6 separate regions of the Homo sapiens genome follow, and all the other regions are linked to region 6. Evidence: promoter capture Hi-C in 16 types of primary human blood cells and fetal thymus (Javierre and others, 2016). All regions are on one chromosome and are shown on one strand. Each heading gives the region's core, a stretch centred on a gene start or on the middle of the fragment in contact. The rest is flanking DNA. Distances are from core to core; before and after follow the strand shown.

The links. The method cuts DNA at HindIII sites, captures the fragments that hold promoters and counts their contacts. A CHiCAGO score of 5 or more calls a contact.
Region 1: a contact is called between a fragment that was not itself captured here and the fragment with the promoter of SLC43A1 in region 6, in 3 of 17 cell types (total CD4 T cells, naive CD8 T cells and naive CD4 T cells). The highest score is 7.5, in total CD4 T cells.
Region 2: a contact is called between a fragment that was not itself captured here and the fragment with the promoter of SLC43A1 in region 6, in 1 of 17 cell types (neutrophils). The highest score is 5.7, in neutrophils.
Region 3: a contact is called between a fragment that was not itself captured here and the fragment with the promoter of SLC43A1 in region 6, in 5 of 17 cell types (non-activated CD4 T cells, erythroblasts, total CD8 T cells and 2 more). The highest score is 8.7, in non-activated CD4 T cells.
Region 4: the fragment with the promoter of ZFP91 here is called in contact with the fragment with the promoter of SLC43A1 in region 6 in 4 of 17 cell types (naive CD8 T cells, non-activated CD4 T cells, naive CD4 T cells and 1 more); the score reaches 14.0 in naive CD8 T cells.
Region 5: a contact is called between a fragment that was not itself captured here and the fragment with the promoter of SLC43A1 in region 6, in 2 of 17 cell types (activated CD4 T cells and naive CD8 T cells). The highest score is 5.7, in activated CD4 T cells.

The regions. Positions count from the first base shown.
Region 1 is chr11:58,526,819-58,530,158 of GRCh38, forward strand. It overlaps LPXN (leupaxin), which reads right to left. Exons shown (of 9, transcript NM_004811.3): 8 at 1,225-1,373; 9 at 53-905. The coding sequence ends at 636. Among named protein-coding and RNA genes, the nearest start is that of OR5B21, 20 kb to the left of the region's middle. The HindIII fragment of the contact is 4,221 bases long and covers 1-3,340 here.
Region 2 is chr11:58,559,113-58,562,461 of GRCh38, forward strand. All of the region lies in intron 3 of LPXN (leupaxin), which reads right to left. Among named protein-coding and RNA genes, the nearest start is that of LPXN, 15 kb to the right of the region's middle. The HindIII fragment of the contact is 8,448 bases long and covers 1-3,349 here.
Region 3 is chr11:58,597,846-58,600,937 of GRCh38, forward strand. All of the region lies in intron 2 of ZFP91 (ZFP91 zinc finger protein, atypical E3 ubiquitin ligase), which reads left to right. The region is part of intron 2 of ZFP91-CNTF (ZFP91-CNTF readthrough (NMD candidate)); the gene reads left to right. Among named protein-coding and RNA genes, the nearest start is that of ZFP91-CNTF, 20 kb to the left of the region's middle. The HindIII fragment of the contact is 1,645 bases long and covers 597-2,241 here.
Region 4 is chr11:58,577,408-58,580,685 of GRCh38, forward strand. ZFP91 (ZFP91 zinc finger protein, atypical E3 ubiquitin ligase) reads left to right here and starts at 1,656. Exons shown (of 11, transcript NM_053023.5): 1 at 1,656-2,215. The coding sequence starts at 1,875. ZFP91-CNTF (ZFP91-CNTF readthrough (NMD candidate)) reads left to right here and starts at 1,707. Exons shown (of 13, transcript NR_024091.1): 1 at 1,707-2,215. It also overlaps a transcript of LPXN not described here. RefSeq lists enhancers at 410-489, 510-1,029, 648-1,340, 1,060-1,289, 2,034-2,725 and 1 more and a silencer at 1,710-2,129. The HindIII fragment of the contact is 10,569 bases long and covers 1-3,278 here.
Region 5 is chr11:58,636,739-58,640,114 of GRCh38, forward strand. No RefSeq gene overlaps it. Among named protein-coding and RNA genes, the nearest start is that of CNTF, 16 kb to the left of the region's middle. The HindIII fragment of the contact is 3,239 bases long and covers 1-3,205 here.
Region 6 is chr11:57,513,995-57,516,951 of GRCh38, forward strand. It overlaps SLC43A1 (solute carrier family 43 member 1), which reads right to left and starts at 1,708. Exons shown (of 15, transcript NM_003627.6): 1 at 1,450-1,708; 2 at 1-130. The coding sequence starts at 117. RefSeq lists an enhancer at 1,862-1,931. The HindIII fragment of the contact is 5,778 bases long and covers 1-2,957 here.

The DNA of each region.
Region 1 (3,340 bases), core at 661-3,160, 1.0 Mb after region 6:
TATATAACACGGGAAGCAGAAAGTTTATCTCCCAAACAAATATGACAATGAGTTATTGAAACCACAAGCCAGTTTATTTATCAATGATGTCAGTACTCAAAGTTGTCCAGTTAAAATCTACTTCCTCTTGAAAAACAAAAATACACTGAAGGAAGATGCAAAGAGCTAAAAGTGGTATCATGATTCCACAGCAGTGATTGTAAGACAGTGAGCCACAGGGAAATGGGAAAACGTGAAAAGAAACAAGTATCAGGACCAAATTAGAGAAGATATGAGTAGGGCCATCACTAGAGGTGAAAATGGAGAAACCTAAGAAAACCAGTGTTGGCATGAATTATGCAAGTGGAAAATACATCTGTAGAGGGACGAGATAGAAGGACCTAGATCTAACTCCAAGTGCTTGATTGGAGAAGAGAGGGAGAAAGAGAATTTATAGAATTAACTGTATAGAAGCCTAAAAAATAAGATTATCAGCCTAGTCATGTAAAGTCTAGAAGTTCCTTTATTTGCTCATCACCTTTCCTTTTTCTATAAGACTATTAAGCAGAAGGTCAGTAACAGAAAATTTACCCTTTCCTCTCCTCTCTTGGTTTAAATTTTATAAGGAATCTGAAGAGGCTATGGATCAGTTGGCATTACAGTGGGAAGAGCTTATTGAAGCAAGGTTGACAATAGGTCTTGTCATTCTGCTCCCTGAAAATGCCCTTCGACAACTGTGTCAGGCAGAAAGCACACACAAAGTGCTCAGGATGGAACTTGTACCCCATGGCACTGATACAACGGCCAGTGATGGGCTGCCCACACCCATGGCAGAGCGTTCCCCGGCGGTGATGGTAATGGAGCTCACAGAATGGACGTCCATCCAGTTCAAAGAAGGAGCCAGTAGAAAAACTGGTGAAGCAGTCCTGGGGTAGAGAGAAGAGAGAGAAAAAGAATGCAAATGTCAAGAGGTAAAATGTCAGCAAAGTAAAATTTTCAGCCTTGAAATTCCTGACAGTTACCTGCCAGCTACAGGAATTTCCCTCAGGTTCTTGACAAATGGAGACTAGATTTCCCGCTTGCAAAACAGACAAGCAAATGGATCTGTATCTCGTTTCTCCTTTAGGATGCGCACATCCATTCCTCATTCAGGACTGTGAACCCTTTCACTAACTGCAGCTCTTCCTCTCAGAGAGGAGAACCCTTGACTTTCCCTAAGTCCGAAAGAAAAGTGATTATACAGACCCCACAAACAAAGCACTCTGGGTGCCAGACAGTGTCCATGGCTGAAAGGTAGTTTTCCAACACTGGGCGATTGCAGCCACCACACTTGGGTGAGAACATGGCTAAGAAATCCTTTCGGCAATATGGCTTCTTGTCCTTCTCATGAAAGCCTGGAGAGATAAAATCAGGAATTCACTGTTGCAGGTTGAGCCCTGAAAGCTACACTGGAGACTGAGAGGAGGCCCTTTCAATCTCAGTGTCCTCATATTCAAAATAGGATGATTACTGTTACCTAATTCAAAGGGTAGTTGTAAGAAATAAATGAGATAATGCAGAGGAAGTGTTTTGGCATTGTGTCTGGTTCATAGTAAACATTTAATAAGTGTTAGGGGCTATTGCTCCTCAGTGCCTTTGTACTAAGTATTCCCTTGGCTTGGATAGTTCTGTCCCAGAGCCTGATATAGTTGTCCTCTTCATGTGATGCAAGAATCACTCAAATATCATCTTATCAGAGAGGCATCTCTTCAGTCCCTCCTTGTCACATCATCTTCTTTCACCGTCTTTATGGCATTTACCTTTATTTAAAATCATCTTTGTGGGCTGTCTCCCCTTACAGGAACATTAGCTCTGAGAGAAACTAGATATTGTTGATCTTGTCACCATTATATCTCTAATATCTAAAACAGCATCTGGGAAGAAAAAAAGCATCTGATATTTTAAAATAAAATACTACTAAATAATAATTTCCAGATGGATGCAAGATCTAAACACAATGACTCATACCATATATTTGAATTAAAAATAGATGTATTCCTCCTTTTTTTATTTTTTGTGTGGGTATATTATTTTTATTGTTTACCAGCAGTGTATGAAAATCCCAATTATTCCTCAGTCTTTACATCACTTGATATATCCATATATTTCCTTTTTAATCAATCAAATGGATGTTATCTATCTATACAATGTTATCTCATGGTAGTTTTGATTTGTATTTCCCGAAAGGCTAATGATACTTAGGGTTTTTTTAATGTGTGCATTTGCATTTCATATCTTGTCATTAATGATGTATTCCTCTTTAATCTGGAAACAGAAAAACTGTCATAAATAAAGCCCAAATTCCAAAAGCAAGTTAAATATTAATAAATTTAGCTACATAAAAATATATCTGAATGACTTACACATGTCAAAAAATCACCATAAACAAAGACAAATAACAATCTGAAGAAAATATTTGCTAATTATATTCCACTCCTGAGTATATGTATGGTTTCAACTATTGTTGTACATAATTAAAAAGTGAAAAAATTGGCCGGGCACGGTGGCTTGCACCTGTAATCCCAGCACTTTGGGAGGCCGAGGCGGGTGGATCACGAGGTCAGGAGATCGAGACCATCCTGGCTAACACGGTGAAACCCCGTCTCTACTAAAAATACAAAAAATTAGCCAGGTGTGGTGGCGAGCGCCTGTAGTCCCAGCTACTTGGGAGGCTGAGGCAGGAGAATGGCGTAAACCCGGGAGGCAGAGCTTGCAGTGAGCCGAGATCGCACCACTGCACTCCAGCCTGGGAGATAGTGAGACTCTGTCTCAAAAAAAAAAAAAAAAAGTAAAAAAATTAAAATGGAAAAACATGAATCCCTAAAAAATTGAATCAAATTGAAGAAAATTAACTGTATATCAAACTGATGACATGAGCAATAAAATAAATAATTTGGAGATTGCTGGCAGGATGACCGAATAGGAACAGCTCAGGTCTGCAGCTTCCAGTGAGATCGATGCAGAAGGCAGGTGATTTCTGCATTTCCAACTGAGGTAACCGGTTCATCTCATTGAGACTGATCGGACAGTGGGTGCAGCCCATTGAGGGCAAGCCGAAAAAGGGTGGGGTGTTGCCTCACCCAGAAAGCACAAGGGGTCAGGGAACTCCCTCTCCTAACAAAGAGAAGCCATTAGAAACTGTGCCGTGAGGAACAGTGCACTCCGGCCCAGATACTGTGCTTTTCCCATAGTCTTCACAAACCGCAGACCTGGAGATTCCCTCTTGTGCCTACGCCACCAGGGCCCTGGGTTTCAAGCACAAAACTGGGCGGCTGTATGGGCAAACACTGAGCTAGCTTTAGAAGTTTTTTTGTTTTTTGTT
Region 2 (3,349 bases), core at 141-2,640, 1.0 Mb after region 6:
CTTTAAATTTGCAATTTAAAGCAATGAGATACTAATATTTACCTATTAGTTGAAATTTTAACAGAGGGATAATATGCAGTGTTGGCAAAATATGAATTTTATATATATACACATACACATTTATATATACCATAGGTGGTTATATAAATTTATAAACACTTTTGCAAGGCAGTATCTATCAACATTTCAGACACATATACCACTTGATTGAGCAATTTTGCTACTAAGAATCTATCCTACAGAAAAATTGGACATATATATATAAATATATGTGCAAGGACATTTATTAGGGTACATTTTCTATGAGCAAATTGGAAATAAACCAATGGAGCTAAAGTAAAATAAATAATGGTTCATCCATGCTATAGAATAACATGCAACTGCTAAGCAGACATAGATTTAAGTGAACTAAAAAAGACTTCCAACAAACATTGTTAGTGTAAAAAAGAAAAGCCCAGAACAATACGAAAATTATACTTCCAGCCTGGTGCAGTCACTCATGCCTGTAATCCTAGCACTTCAGGAGGCTGAGGTAGGAGGACTGCTTGAGCCCAGGAGTTCAAGACCAGCCTGGGAAACATAGGGAGACTCCATCTCTATGAAAATTTTAAAAATTAGCTGGGTGTGGTGGCACATGCCTGTGGTCCCAGCTACTTGGGAGGCTGAGATGAGAAAATAACTTGAGCCCAGGAGGTCAAGGCTGCAGTGAGCCAAGATAACACCACTGTTCTCCATCCTGGGCAATAGAGACAGACCCTATCTCAAATTTAAAAAAGAAAAAAATTTACTTCCATTTATATAAATTTATAAGCCCATGTACATAAGTATGAATATGCACACACATAAGTCTGTAAGGAGAAGAACCTGACAGCAGTTACCTGTGGAGCTGGTAATGAGTTGGTGAGAGGAAAGACTCTAAGAGGAGTGGTCTCAATTTTCACCCTATGTATACATTTCCAAATTCTTCGACTTTTTACGCACATGAGTTTATGAAATAGTTTTGTATCTTAAGTTATATTTTTAAAACAAAACAAAACACAGGTCATCTATACTAGGAAAATAGCTAACACACATGGCCAACAGATGAAGTGGTGGAGGTGTCAGATGAGACATCAGTAATGCAATTCACCTGTATATCTCAGTTATTATACACACACATACACACACAATGGTTCTACAAACAATCTTCAGTAAAGTACATAAATATAGTCACAGTGTAGAGCTTTCTATTTAAAATTGTTCTAAAATATAAAATTAACACATGTTAAGTGTAGAAAATTTGAAAACTGCAGAGAAATATACAGAAAAAATTTTAAACACATATAATCCCCTTTTCAGGAGGCATTTACTCTGGACATTTTGGCTGATACCATTACACTTAACTATGATTGTGTGTAATTTTAGAAAACTAAAATTATACATTTTTCCTACTCTTATGCAAACATTTTTCTATCTTCTGCAACCATAATAGGTAGCATTTATTGAATGTCTGTCTGCACTATGCCTGACACTCTATACAGAGCTTTACACAGGTTCTCTTTAAATCTTTTATAATAACAACCTTAAGAGCTAGGTATTATCACCTCCAAATGAAAAACTGGGGCTTAGAGAAGTTAAAAACTTTTTTGTACATAATACAGTTGGCAAGTAACAAAGAGCTTGGGCCTGCAAACTGCAAAGTTTGTGCTGTGTGTCCTGAATTATCTGCCAAAATAATGTTTAAAGGCTATATATTTTCAAATAGATAATGTATTATATAATTTATCAAACTAATAATTTATTGCTGGACACCTAGATTGTTTTCTAACTTTCATTATTATAATCAATACTGCCAAACAAATATTTGCACCCATGTTTGATCATTTACATAAGAGTTAAATTTTAAGAAGGGAAATCACCGGGCCAAAAGGTATAAAAAGGTAACTGACTGTGGAATCATGTTTGTAATCAACATTAATCAACAGAGCTTAGCTAACAACCCACCAAACCAAAACCCTCTGTCTCACGACTACTCAAGCCTTTTCTCTCTCTCTCTCTGCACAAAGATGCAAAGTCATAAATAAAAGTAAATGTTCTGTCTTTCACTTAATATATTTTCAAAAATGAAAACATACATTTACTACTTATCTTTATGTAGTTACCAGCCAGAAAAAAAGTAGAAGAAAAGTTGATACTTTTCTCTCTTAAGAAGAAAAGACTATCTTTTGGATACGACATATCTCATGTCCACTTATTTTTGATCACTTAACAACAAGGAAAATATAAGAGGAAAATGGATATCTCTTAAGATAAAAGATTTATCTTTTAGGTACAACATGGCCCTCTACTAGATGCAAGATTTTTTGTTTTAATCTGAGAGCAAAACCAGTCAAGTATGCAAGTAATTGATTCAATCCATTGTGGATGTTTCCCAGAAGGTACACTGGAGCTTTTTCTCACAGCTCGATCAGTCATAATCCTTTCGTAGCTGCTGCCACAGGCAAATGCCTTGGGAATACAAAAGGCAGCAGGACTGTGAACACATTCTGCTGCCCTATGCCCAAATGCAGAACAAATGCAGTTTCTTAGCAGGGCTTGTATATTCCTAAAAAACCTTCCAATCTCACAGTTGGGGCAAATTTGTGCTTATTCAAAGAATTCCCACTGGTTTTTAACTAGAGTCCTAGTGCAGTGTAGAAAGGGAAATAGATCATTGTTATAATACTCCAACAGTTATTGAGTCAACAGTATAAAATTCTACATAAGAAATGAGAGACCTTGAAGAGTTAATGATTACAAATTAAAGTGCCCACTGCAGGAAATGTTCCTGAAAAGAGAAGAACCTTTGATTTGTTCCCTGACCTTTTGAAGATAGTAAAGATGCTTGGCTATGTCATCAGCAGCAACTTACTTCACTGCTCAGAGATTTCAGTAACACATATCACAAGAGATGCATCTAAAAGAATCCAGACTTAAGCAAGGGGCTTCATTGTGCTGGGTTTTTTTCCCCTACTTATTTCTCTGTTATATTTTTATGACTTATTCCTCTCGATTATTACCAGAATTATTTTTGTTTATGTAAAAGATACATTTCTAAATTATTGCTCATGTTGCTATTGATATATAACTATACTAGAAATGTTATTGCATTGTTATATTCAGAGCTAGTATTGAAAATACTTTGAAGGTATGTTAAAAGCAATATTTAGTTCATTTAAGCAAGCCAGAGTAAATAGTAGAAACAGAATGCAGGAATCTAGTTTGTGTGTCTAATATTCTATTTATATGCTAGCCTTGCCAGCTCAGAGTGATACTAGTCTCAGGGATGTGCATCTATCTATTACATATTTACTAGGTCACCTGGATTTTA
Region 3 (3,092 bases), core at 169-2,668, 1.1 Mb after region 6:
TTTTTCTTGTAATACCGTGACTTTTCTCTGCTTCTTGGAAGCACTTCCAGTATCACTAGTGGCAACTCTTATGGGTCCCGTAGTGTTAGTCAAGGTTTCAGGTATTGCTCTAAACATAGTGAAAAATGAGTTAACTGAGAGATACCACTTCTACTGTGACAGTAAATTCACTCAGGTGGTGATGATTATCCTCATGACATTTTAAGCAGATACTTGAAACAGCTGAGCTTGCTGCAATAGCAACAGGAGATAGCTATGAAATTATTATGTACGGAGTTAATTTTATGCAGTTATTCATTAGTACATCTTTACGTTTCTTTACATTTCTCTGGACTTTGGATGATACCATATATAGTCTAAGACTTTGTGTGTGTAAGTTTTGTTGAATTTTAACTTTTTATATTTGTGTATATTTTACAGTAATGTCATCAAATAGAGTGGTATCTATAGTTTATGCATTCATGACATAACTTAATTTTTCAATATTTCTAGGCTACACAGTTTGTCTGCAAGTTTTTTCAAATTGTCACAAATCTCCAAAAAATTTTCTTACATATTTTAAAAAACTGGCGTATGAATGGATCCATGCAGTTCAAAGCTTTGTTGTTCAAGGGTTAACTAACTGTAGTTATATTCACTGTGCCTGCATGTTGCTCATGCAGTGACTAGTATGATGTCTTCCTTTACCCAAGCTAGTATGGCTTTTTTCTCTTATTATTTATGTATCAAGGAACCTCCTCAAGGTTAGCTGCTATTATAAGAAACAACTGGAAATTGTCTTTGAAGTACCACACAGAAGAAACTTGGCTTGTTTCCTATCTGTTTATGATTGTTTATGCTAATGTATGGATTGTCCTTCAGTTGTCAATTTCTATTCCAGAAACCTGGCAATACTTTTGTGCACGTGTGTGTGTGTGTGTGTGTGTGTGTGTGTGTGTGTGTTTTGAGGTGAAATTCACATAACAAAAAAATAGTAAAAAATACTTGAAAGCATACAATTCAGTGACATTTGGTACATTTACAGTGTTGTACAACCATCACTTCTATCTAGTTCCAAACATTTTCATCACCACCAACAAAGGAGACCCCTGTACCCATTAAAAGCAGTTATTCCCCCTTCCCTCCTGTTCAGCTGCAACAAACATTAATCTGCTTTGTCTCTATGGATTTACCTATTCTGGATATTATATGTAATTGGAATCATACAATATGTGCAATATGTGACTTTTGTTTCTAGCATCTATCATATAGCATATTTTTAAGGTTCACATTGTAACATGTTAAGATTGCATTCCTTTTTATGGCTGGATAAAAATTTTCGTTGTATGTATATATGACATTTTGTTTATCCATTCACTGGTTAATGGATATTTGGGTTGTTTCCACAATTTGGGTATTGAGAATTGTGCTTCTATGAATATTCATATGTAATAAGTATTTCTTTGAATAGCTGTTTTCAATTTTTGGTGTATGTACCTAGAAGTGGAATTGCTGGATCATATGGTAATTCTGTGTCTAAGTTTTTCTTAACATTTTTCTTAACACTGTTTTCTTAGGTTTTCCATAACACTGTTTTCCTCATTAGCTGCCTCATTTTACATGTCCACCAGCAATAAACAATGGTTCCAATTTCTCTGCATTCTCACCAACACTTCTTATTTTCTTTTTTTATTATTTTTAGTTAGCCATTGTAGTATGTGGGAAATGGTAATCTCATGTGATTTTGATTTGCATTTCGTTAATGACTGATGTTCCGTATCTTTTCAAGTACTTTTTTGGCCTTTTGTATATCTCTGGAGAAATAATCTGTTTAGGTTCTTTGCCCATGTTTTAATTGGGTTGTTTCTCTTTTTGTTGTTAAATCCAAAGACTTTATATATTTTGGATATTAGACTTTTACCAGATATATGACTTGCAAATATATTCTCCCATTCTGTAGGGTTATCTTCACTTCTATGCATTTTTTAGTGCTAGCTCCTGTGTTTAGGTCTTTGATCCATTTTGAGTTAATTTTTATATATGGTATAAGGTAGGAATACAACGTCATTTTTTGCATGTGGATATCCATTTGTCTTAGCACCATTTCTTGAAGAGACTGTTTTCACCTACTGAATGGTCTTAGCCACCTTCTTAAAAATCAGTTGACCACAGATGTATAGATTTATATCTGGACCTTTAATTCAGTTAGTTGATTCAATTATTATTAGTTTTATGCCGGTAATACATTGTATTGATTACTGAAGCTTTATAGTAAGTGTTGAAATTGAGAAGAAAAAAGTGCGTCTTTAATTCTGTTTGTTTTCAAGATGGCTGTGACTAGTGTAGATCCCTTGCATTTTCCTGTGAACTTTAGGATTGGGTTGTCAATTTCTACCAAAAAGGAAGCTGGGGTTTTGATAAGAATTACAGTTAATCTGTGGGTTTATTTTCAGAGTATTGTCATCTTAACAATTTTTCAATATTTTATTCCTTTTTATTCTATTGTAAAGGTAATCATTTTCTTAATTTCCTTTTTGTTCATTGCTAATATACTTAAAACAATGAATGTTATATGTTGGTCATATATTCTGGCACTTTGAATAAAGGTAATAATTATTTTCTTAATTTCCTTTTTGTTCATTGCTAATATGCTTAAAACAATGAATGTTACGTGTTGGTATTATATTCTGGCCCTTCGAATTTGTATATGACCTTTAACAGTTTTCTTTTGTGAAAATTCTTTAGAATTTTCTATATGTAAGGTCTTTTCACCTGCAAATAGAGATACAGTTTTACTTCTTCCTTTTCACTTTGGGTGCCTCTTTTTTTACTTGAGTAATTACTTGGCTAGAACTTCCAGTACAGTGTTGAATGGAAGTGAAGAATGAGGGCATCCTTGTCTTGTTCCTGACCTTAGCAGGAGAGCTTTGTCTTTTACCACTGCGTATGATGTGAGCTCTGGGGTTTTTAAAGGTGTTCTTTGTCAAGTTGAGGAAGTTCAATTCTATTCCCAGTTTTTTGTGTGTTCTTATCATGAAAGTTTAATTTTGTCAGGTTCTTTTTCTTTTTTCTACATCAATTGAGATAATGGTGTGTTTTTTCCTCTCTTTATT
Region 4 (3,278 bases), core at 406-2,905, 1.1 Mb after region 6:
GTCTACAGTTTAACTGAATGATTAATGTGAAATTTAAAATTGGATCCCCAGATCTTGTTTCCAGCTTCTTTCTTTTGGGACTTTTAGCCCTGGATGCCTTATTTTCCAGGGGTAAAGGATGTTCTTGCAAATCGTTCCTTGATTGTAATGGATGAAAAGAAAAAAGAAATGGGAGAGGCCCACTGCATCACCAACTGCAACGGAAATTCCCTTTGATGAATCAGGAAGACAAATTAATGTCATACGCTAGCGTGCAGAAAAGTAACCTCTGATAAAGTTGCTATTGTATAAACCGCAGAAGCAGATGGCTTCCGGCCGCAGAGCTTAAGAGACCCTTCAGCTTCTCGGTGTAGGTCACCAGTCATGTCACGCTCACAACCCTTTCGCCTCCCTCTAGGTCAGGCACCGCATCCAAGTTAAGCAACCGACGCCGGCTCCTTGGTGTCCCAACAAGGTCTAGTAGAAAAGCAACTTTATAATTCGTTTCACAGATTTGATTAAGAGCCAACTGAGTAGTGGGCCTTGTGCTAGGGCTCCGAGGGCCCAAGGACCCCATGGAACCAGATTTAGTCGCTGACCTCTAGGAGCTCACAGGTGAGTGACTCACACACCGGAAGACGAGATCAATAATGTAGACATGAACGCTGGCTAGCCAGTCCCAGAGGAGGTGTCATCTGACCAAACCAAGGCAAGTCTGGGCAGTTACGCAGACACCCCGAGAAAGGTACGCCAACGCCCAGATAAAAAGTAAGAAAAAGTAGGAAAAACCCTCCCATCAGACCAGCAATTGGCTCGACGCTTGAGCCCGGATGTACGGCACGCGTCGCGACCTAACCCGGAAACACTGCCTCCCGAAAAAAAGGTAAACTCTAGACTGCGGAAAGTAAACTACCTTTCCCGTCGTGACTCAGTTAGAACCTCCCGGCATCCTCTCCACCTCTGGTTTCCCATCTATTTTTCCTAAAGCCTAGGCGAAATAAGACTTCATCTCCCAGAATGCCCTTGGTTAAGTTAACGGTGCGCATGCGCCAAGAGGCGGGCCCTCGTTGCCCCCACAACCCCGCCTCCGTTTTGCCGCCGCCATTTTTTCAGAGACTTTCATCCGGCAACCGACGGGGCTTTTTTTCTTAAAGGAGAAGCGACAGCTCAAAATACTACCCCCTTCTCCGCGCAAGATCTGGCGGCGCTGGGGACAGAAAGGCCAAAGACAGGAAAGTGGGGTAGGGTGGAGGCGGAAGAACGCCCAGGCTACTTCTGCGGCCTAAAGAAGAATAGAAAGAGCCCTTGTGGTATCAGTGGCTCCTCAGGGAGGCAGGTGCGCGCGCAGCCAGTCTAGGGTTTGCGTGAGGCGGGGAAAGAGGTGCGATTTCTTCTCACCCGCCTCCCTCGCGAGACCTGCCCCTCGCACTGCCCCTAGCGCGCGTTGAAGTCTGGAGGGGGGAAAAAGGTCACTTTGGGATTGTCGCGAGACACAGCCGTTTAACGGTGAGAACGGGTGCGCGGGGAAGGAAACCTCGCGCGCTCCCCTTTTAGCCGTTTCCTGATTGGCTGAAGGAAGGGGTGGGGGAGGGAACCTGGGGCGCCGCTGCGTGTAAGACTGCGAGGGGCGGGGTGAGGAGGCTTGTCCTCTTTTCCGATTGGCCCGCTGAGCGTCTGTGGCGCGCGCGCGCGCGCCGCCAGCGGTAGCGGACCTTGAGTGGCAGGGGGTGGGGGGGGCGCCCTCGGAGCCGGGCGGAGGGGAGGGGGGAAAGAGGAGCGCAGGGTGAGAGTGAGCCGCAGGCTTCGGGAGGCGAGGGGGCGGGGGGAGCAGCGCCGAGGCCGCCGCCTCCGCCTCCGCCGCCTAGGACTAGGGGGTGGGGGACGGACAAGCCCCGATGCCGGGGGAGACGGAAGAGCCGAGACCCCCGGAGCAGCAGGACCAGGAAGGGGGAGAGGCGGCCAAGGCGGCTCCGGAGGAGCCCCAACAACGGCCCCCTGAGGCGGTCGCGGCGGCGCCTGCAGGGACCACTAGCAGCCGCGTGCTGAGGGGAGGTCGGGACCGAGGCCGGGCCGCTGCGGCCGCCGCCGCCGCAGCTGTGTCCCGCCGGAGGAAGGCCGAGTATCCCCGCCGGCGGAGGAGCAGCCCCAGCGCCAGGCCTCCCGACGTCCCCGGGCAGCAGCCCCAGGCCGCGAAGTCCCCGTCTCCAGTTCAGGGCAAGAAGAGTCCGCGACTCCTGTGAGTAACAGTCTTTCAGGCGGTGGGAAAGACCCCCCTCTGTCCGTACGCAACCCTCTCGGCTCCCGTAGCGCCTACTCCACGTGACATCCTGCCTGGTCTGCCCCCTGCCGGCTCCGCACGCCAGATGTCACACCGTTTCCCCGGGAGCCTTCGTGCCTCCTCTCTGCGCCACCCTCATCTCGCTCCTGTACCTTCGCTTGTCGGGCCGTTTCCCCACTCCCCGAAATCATCTTTTGATACACCCCTGCACTCGCTAGTGATCCACCTCCTCCCTGACACCCGCAGGCTCATCCCTCTTTCTGGCATCCGCACCCCCTTTGTCACCCTATCCCTTTCCTTTAGGCGGCTCTCCAGTATTACATCACATGCCCTTTAGGGAATACACAGCCCGATCATAGCCTTCAAAAATGATTCCCCCCCGCCTTCGCGTTAGCTCAAGAGCCAGATGTACTAGTGTGTTTATGTAGCTTTTTTTTTTTTTCACTTTTCTAAATTTTTCGCAACCCTTCTCATTCTTTTGAGAAATTTGCCACTTATTATGGTCAGGTTAAAAGCCCACTGCTACGATTTTAAGTATGGAGTCTTTCATATAAAATTATATGAGCATTCTTTAATGTTTGTTTTTACTAAGTAGCATATGTTTTATCTTTGTGTTTCGTGTTTTTAAATGTAGGAACTTCATCCTTGAAATTAGAATCATCTGAGAGGAATTCCTTTATTACCTAGACGTAATAGAGGAAACATGAACAGGTGGCCAGGAGCATTGTCTTAAATTGTTCGTTAAAATAATACTCATGTTAAGAATACTGAAGCACACAAGTTTGTAAATTCTAGAAATTAATCACATTGACTATTCAATTCATGACTGAAAACATCATTAGTGACCTTTGATTTTTGAGTGAAAACAGATTAGTAAAAACAGAGAAAATTGAAGTGAGGGGGAGTCAGTTTTAAGTGTTCCCTTTCTTCCAGTAGAGATAGTGGCAAGGTTTGACTTACACCAGACCTAATAGATTTAAAACTTGAAACAGACTTGGTCCAAAATTAAGAGTTAAGCCTG
Region 5 (3,376 bases), core at 336-2,835, 1.1 Mb after region 6:
CTTCATTTTACATAACTTACAGTATCCAATAGGGGGCAACAACCTAATTGTCCAAGAGGAGCTTGCTCCGGAGAAGACAATGTGTAACGTCCAAGGAACAACTCTGGGCCAGTAGCCCAGCAGTCACCATGCTATCATCAGCTGGGGTGGAATTACTGCAGCCCCTCCACCCGGTGACCCAGGGTTCTAAAAGGAACTTGGAGACCATATGGTTACACATGCTACCACCTCCCCCTTTGCCTTCTCTGTTGTTTACTATTTTTTGGTCAACTTGCCTAGAATATTTTGAGGCAGTGAAAACTAAGTTTTATTCATCTTTGTATTTATGATAGCACTTACAATGGACAAAAATGGGGCTCAAAACGGGTTTATGAATGAAATAATAATACACTTAAGAATCCAAGAGGGGCAGGTCATTTAAAAGAATCCAATAGCTGGTTCCTATCACCTGAGGCTTCATAAGACCTCTTTCTGGTTTTCTCTCATTCATTCAGCTAACTTTTAGAGCACATACCTCTAAAATTTACAGCACCTATCTCAGAGTTCTGTCTGATGCTCTGAGGCTGAGCCCTGGCAGTAACTACAATAAGGACAACACCAACCCTCCCCACACTAAAAGAGCTCTTAGTCAAATTGGAAAAAGAACTCATGCCAAGTGACATGCTCATATAAACATACTGCTAAGGTTGGGTGGTCGTCAAGAGGAGTAAGAGATGCTTTCTTCCTGGGAGATTGAAGGAGTATGTGTGTGTGAGAAGGAGGGGCAGGTAAAGACATATTCTCAAGGGAGCTGACATCTGAACCCAGTCTTGATTAATGAGTTAGACTTCATCAGGCAAAGGCACAGCCAGGAATCACCATGACACATCAGGGGATCAGTGTGTGGAACATATTGGGAGTGTGTCATGGGAGGGGGAATCTGAAGGCTAGCTAGAGATCAGGATGACAAGGGAGGTCAGGGCCCAATGACAAACAGTCATATCAAGGTGGATGTCATACGTTCCAGTTTATGAGCATTGTCCCATATAATTAAAACACCTTTTTTTTTTTTTGGTTTCAACCGGAGTTCAGATTTGGATGATAAATTATATGACTACTCTACTTATAAGATAATCCATTCTCTCTTCTCTCCCACCTTTCTTTTTAAACCTCAGGCCAAAACCTATTCTGCCTTGGCCCCCACCTCACCTTTCTCAGTCAGGGAGCTCAGTTTCCGGAGCCTGGGGATATTTTCAAAGAAATGAACTGAGGCCATCATAATGGAGCTTCCAGTTGCTGTTGAAAGGATTCTCCCAGGCCAGCAGAATTGAACAAATCTATGTGTGTCTGGCTGAGGCCAGAAGGAGTCTGGTGCTCCTGCTCCCAGCCCTGGATCAAACTCTGTTTCTTTCTGGGAAGTCCTTCTTTTCTTTCTCACATCTAATCTTCAAGATGCAGCAGAAATTCCATCCTCTTCCAGAAGCCTTATCAGACATCTCTCAGAATTTGTATCCCTCCTTCATTTTCCCATAGAAAATGTTTGAAGCTGTATCACATTTCACAATGAGTAATTTATATATTAGGTGTATCTGCCCCACTCAACCATGAGCCCTGGTTGGACATCTTTATGTTCTTCATGGTACATAGAACTCTGCCACTCACGTCCTCACATCACCATCAGAATGATCATCATGGTCAATTCCACATCATGACAGCTCAAGGTGACAGGCCAGGTACTATGGGGAAGGGTTTCCTTGCAGTATCTCATTTAATCATCACAGTAATTTTATGACATCAATTTTAATATTATCCCAACTTTAGAGAAGAGATTAATTCCCAGAGTGGTGGGACAATTTGCCCAGGGTCACTGAGCCAGTAAGCAGCAGTGCTGGGACTTGAGCCTCGGTCTGTGTGATCTGACTCTGGGATCTCAATCCTAAAGCAGCAGCAAATCGTCATAGATATGAACTTTCACATTTAGAAAGGCCAGAGAGTGTTCCAAAGTGCTTTGCTTCCATTAGCTCATTTAATCCTCTCAAGTAACCTAGGAATTTGACACACTAACTCCATTTTAAAGAGGACCAAGCTGAGGCACAAAAAACTTGCCAGTGACGAGTATTTGCCTCCACGTGGGTGAGGACATGCTTGCCATACCTGAGCACAAGCATCTCTGCCAGGTACTTGGCCTCCTGGGTCTGGGTGGTTCTCCAGGTGGTTGCTGAGGGTCCGCACATGCTGCGAGAAGCAGGGCTGAATATCAGGGGTTTCTGGGACCTTCAGAGAGTAGATGCTGTGGTGGACCTGCACTCTGGCTGTGACCTACAACCTGATGGAACCCCGGGTTGTACGCCTTGACGTTCTGGCACTTGGCTGAGAACTTACCATTAAGGCTGGGGAGGAAGCGGAGCTTAGCACTGATGGAGCCGCCCAGGCTTTGGTGTAGTTGAGCCAGTGGTCAACAAGCTCTGCCTGGGTTTCTATGACCCTATCCCTCCTGGCACCATGTGCACATGGTCTGGAAAGAGGTGGTTACTTGCTGCAATGCCAGCCCGAGCTCTGCATTACTTAGGTTTTTCTAGCCGCTGTCCAGCAGTTCCCCCTGCACGGACATGTTCAGTGCCTGCTTGCAGCCTTGAAACCCCAGCATCCTCGCAGGCCTCATCATTGGAACCCTCTAGGGGCTCCTCCTTTTTCTGAGACTAGCTACTGCTCTAAATGAGCCTCTGAAATATGTGCTTTATAATCTCATTTACCCTCTCACCATTCTACTTTTGCACATTTGCAAACTAAGACCCACAGAAGTCAGGTAAAATGCCTAAGGTCACAGTACACAACAGAGCTAGCATCTGAATCCAGGTTCTTTGATGCCAAAGCACAATTTCCATTCACTGATCTATGTGTGGTGTTTCTCCTTTCTATTCAGTATCAGTGTCTTGATTTTTTATCCCTCTTAGGGCATTTGCAATTAAAGAAGGCTCACGGAAAGGAGCATGGGATTGCTCCTGGTTCCAGCTGGTTCTAACAGTGTGCTTGGAGCAGAAGTCTTTTCTCTCCACCCTGTATGGGGAGAGGCAGCACTGGCCAGAGGAATGGGTGCTTCTCAAGACCTGAATTGAAATCTGGGTTTTGTCATTTCATCAGCTGAGCCCTCCCACTCTCACGGCTTTCTTCCCTGAGTCCCACTTCCTTCATCTGTTACAGAATGAGAACAATAATAACCTCTTCAAGCTTGAGCTGTTGGATATAAAATGCCCAGCAGAGTGCCTGGCACAAAATAAGGTGTTCTTTTAGGGAAGTGGGTTAAATGGCTTGTTCAAGGTCTGGGTTTGCATCCAGGTTTGTCTGAATCCAAAGCCTAGTGCTCTTTCAATGTAATGCTTCTTTCCAATCTCTATGT
Region 6 (2,957 bases), core at 458-2,957:
AATGATCAACAGGGAGCCCCAGCCCAGGAGTACAGCAGAGAAGAAGAGGTTCTCCAGCACAGCCGTGCAGGCCATCCACCAGCGCCTCCGGTACGCCTGTTGCAGCGTGGGGGCCATGCTGGCCCCGAGCCTGCACAGAAACAGAGCGCTGGGTGAAGGGCCCCCCAGTGGCCCCAGGGAAGGGTCCTGCATCATGGTGGCACCCGAGACCTCTCGGGCCAGCCCGCGAGGAGCCCCTCATGGAGGCCCCATAGAGCCCTGGGCTTCCCAGCCGGTGCCAAGGAGCTGGCTCCGCGCGCACTAGCAGTGCCAGAGGTGCACGCGGCACGGGGCTCCCGCTGAGCCACTATCGGAAACAAGGAAGGTCCTGTCTGCGCGCTGCAGCTTCCTAGCAGGCTGCCGGGTTCTCTCACCCAGGCCAGGGCGCTCAGGGCCGGGCTGCTGGGGAGAAAGTCCGCATCTGCCCAGGTCCCCAGAGGACAGCAAGGGGCAGAGCGCGCTCTGAAGCACCGCGGGCCCATGTCCGGACTCTCGCGCCAGGAAAGACCCCTAGAAGCTGGCAGGAAGAAGGGCAAGTTCAAGGCTACCCTACGACCCCATCTTCCAGTTGCCCCTCCAAGACCTCTCCTTCCCTCTGGGGCCGGGCGACAGCAAGCCCTCCCCCTTTCCGTATCAGGTGACCCACGACCCTACAGTCTCTCGGGCCAAGCCAACAGCTGCCACGTGGAGGGAGACCCAGGACGGGCTCTCCTCGGTTCCCTCCTCCCCCGCGCGCCCCTCACTCACTCCGCAGGGCTCGGGGCACCAGGCTTTGCACCTCGGAACCCGCTTGCCCCCCTCCAGCCCCGGGAGGGGGCTCGGACTTCGGCAGGAAGTCTGGCGGCTGCTGACTTTATAAGGGCAGCGGTGGCGGATGGGCTGGCGGGCGGGTGTGTTTACCAAAGGGAGGGAAAGAGCCCCAGCTCCCCCCGCCGCGGCCGCTGCAGCCTCGGCGGGAGGAGAGGGAACGCGGGCGGCGCGGGGGCGGGGAGCGACAACTGGGATGAGACCGAGGAAAGCGGAGAGGAGAAGGGCAAGAAAGACCCAGAGAGAGGGGAGGAAGTACCAGTCACTTCTTCCAGGGGGACTCGGTATTCTCATCTGTGAAACGGGGCTTTGGGTTCAAGCGCTCCAGGAGGTCCGCTGGAACTCTGGCAAACGCGCAGCTCTAAGCAGAGGAAGTGCAGCGAGCGGGGACCCGGGAGGAAGAGAAGAGTCGGAGGGGTCAGAGAAAAGAAAAGGGAAGGACGCGCTTGGCGAGATGGGACACTGTGCCGCGGGACCGCGGGCGCAAGTAACGGTCTTTCCTTGGGAAGCCTGGCAGTGTCGGCGGGAGCCGGCCTCGGTGTCTCTCAGCCGACGCATAGCCGGAGACCCTACGCGCGCCCCCTCCCCGCCCACGCTGCTCACCTCCGGTCACCGGCAAATGAGCAGCCAGCAGCTGCGGACGCCTCCGGGAGCGCAACGCTTTCGCGGCGCGTCCGGAGTCCCGTGGGCCCAGCCCTGAGCCGCGCCGGCGCTGGGGTCTTCTCTGCGTGCAGGACCCGGCGGCCACGGAGCTTCAGCCTGACAGCCCGGTGGCCTCGCCTCCGCTGTCTCCTCGGAAGAAGCGGGGGAACTGGGAACCCGCCGGGCGCCAGAGGTCTGCGAAGCTGGGCTTGGATGAAGTGGATCTGCGGAGTTGATAGTTGTATTTACACGCGTCCGGAGCTGCGCCCCGAGGTGGGGGCGGGGGCTCCCTTCTTTTCCCCTCCCCTTAGGTCGAGTTTCACGCGCACGTGACTCGCCCGCTGGTCCCGGACACTCTCCCTCTGGCACAGCCCCAGCACCTACATTTCCACCCTGGACCCCCATCTTCTCCCCCAAGCCCCCAGACTAACATCAGGCAGCGCCCTCTGTATCCTTGTTCAAAACAAAGTGCGATTCGGCTGAAGCCGACTGACCGCGATTCAGGGCCGCCTTGGGTGGGGTTTTGAACTGTGCAGCTGGAAGCAGTGTTTTCCGAGAGGCAGAGTGGCACGGGTTTCTTTGGAGTTAGTCAGATCGAGGTCTGAGTCTTGACTTTTTAACTGACTACCCTGGGTTACCTAGGGCAAGTTACCTCTCTGAGCCTCAGCTTCCTCCTCTTTAAATTCGGTTAAAATGGAACCTACCTAACTGCCCAAAGGAATCGCGATTGTGATGCAGGTAAAATGCTAAGCATAGCATTTGGCATAGTAAGCATAATGTTAATTGTTGCTGCTGTCATTATTTCAGAAGACCTGGTGATCGGATGCTTCCAGATCAACAATTGATTGACTCCAGGTAAATCTCTCAGCCTCCCTGAGCCTCAGTATCCTCATCTGTAAAATAGACTACTATGGTGTGGAGTAATGAGAAGTAATCTCATTACATGTGAGTTTAATTGTGTGTTAAGAGTGCTGCTAATGCATGCTGAGCTTAATACCTAGGTGATGGGTTGATAGGTGCAATAAACCACCACGGCATACATTTACCTACGTAACAAACCTGCACATTCTGCACATGTACCCCAGAACTTAAAATAAAAATAAAATTTTTTTAAAAAAAGAGTGATACTGGTGGCCAGGTGTGGTGGTTCATGCCTGTAATCCCAGAACTTTGGGAGGCCAAGGCAGGAGGATCGCTTGAGCTCAGGAGTTCGAGACCAACCTGGACAACATGGTGAAACCCCGTCTCTACAAAAAAGAAAAAAAAATAGCCAGGCATGGTGGTGTGCACCTGCAGTCTCAGCTACCCAGCAGGCTGAAGTGGGAGGATCACTGAGCTGGAGAGATGGAGGCTGCAGTGAGCCAAGATCATGCCACTACACTCCAGCCTGGGTGACAGAGTAAGACTCTGTCTCAAAAACAAAACAAGAATGACTACAGAAAGCTCCAAGAAGGCCTCAGATAAAAGGG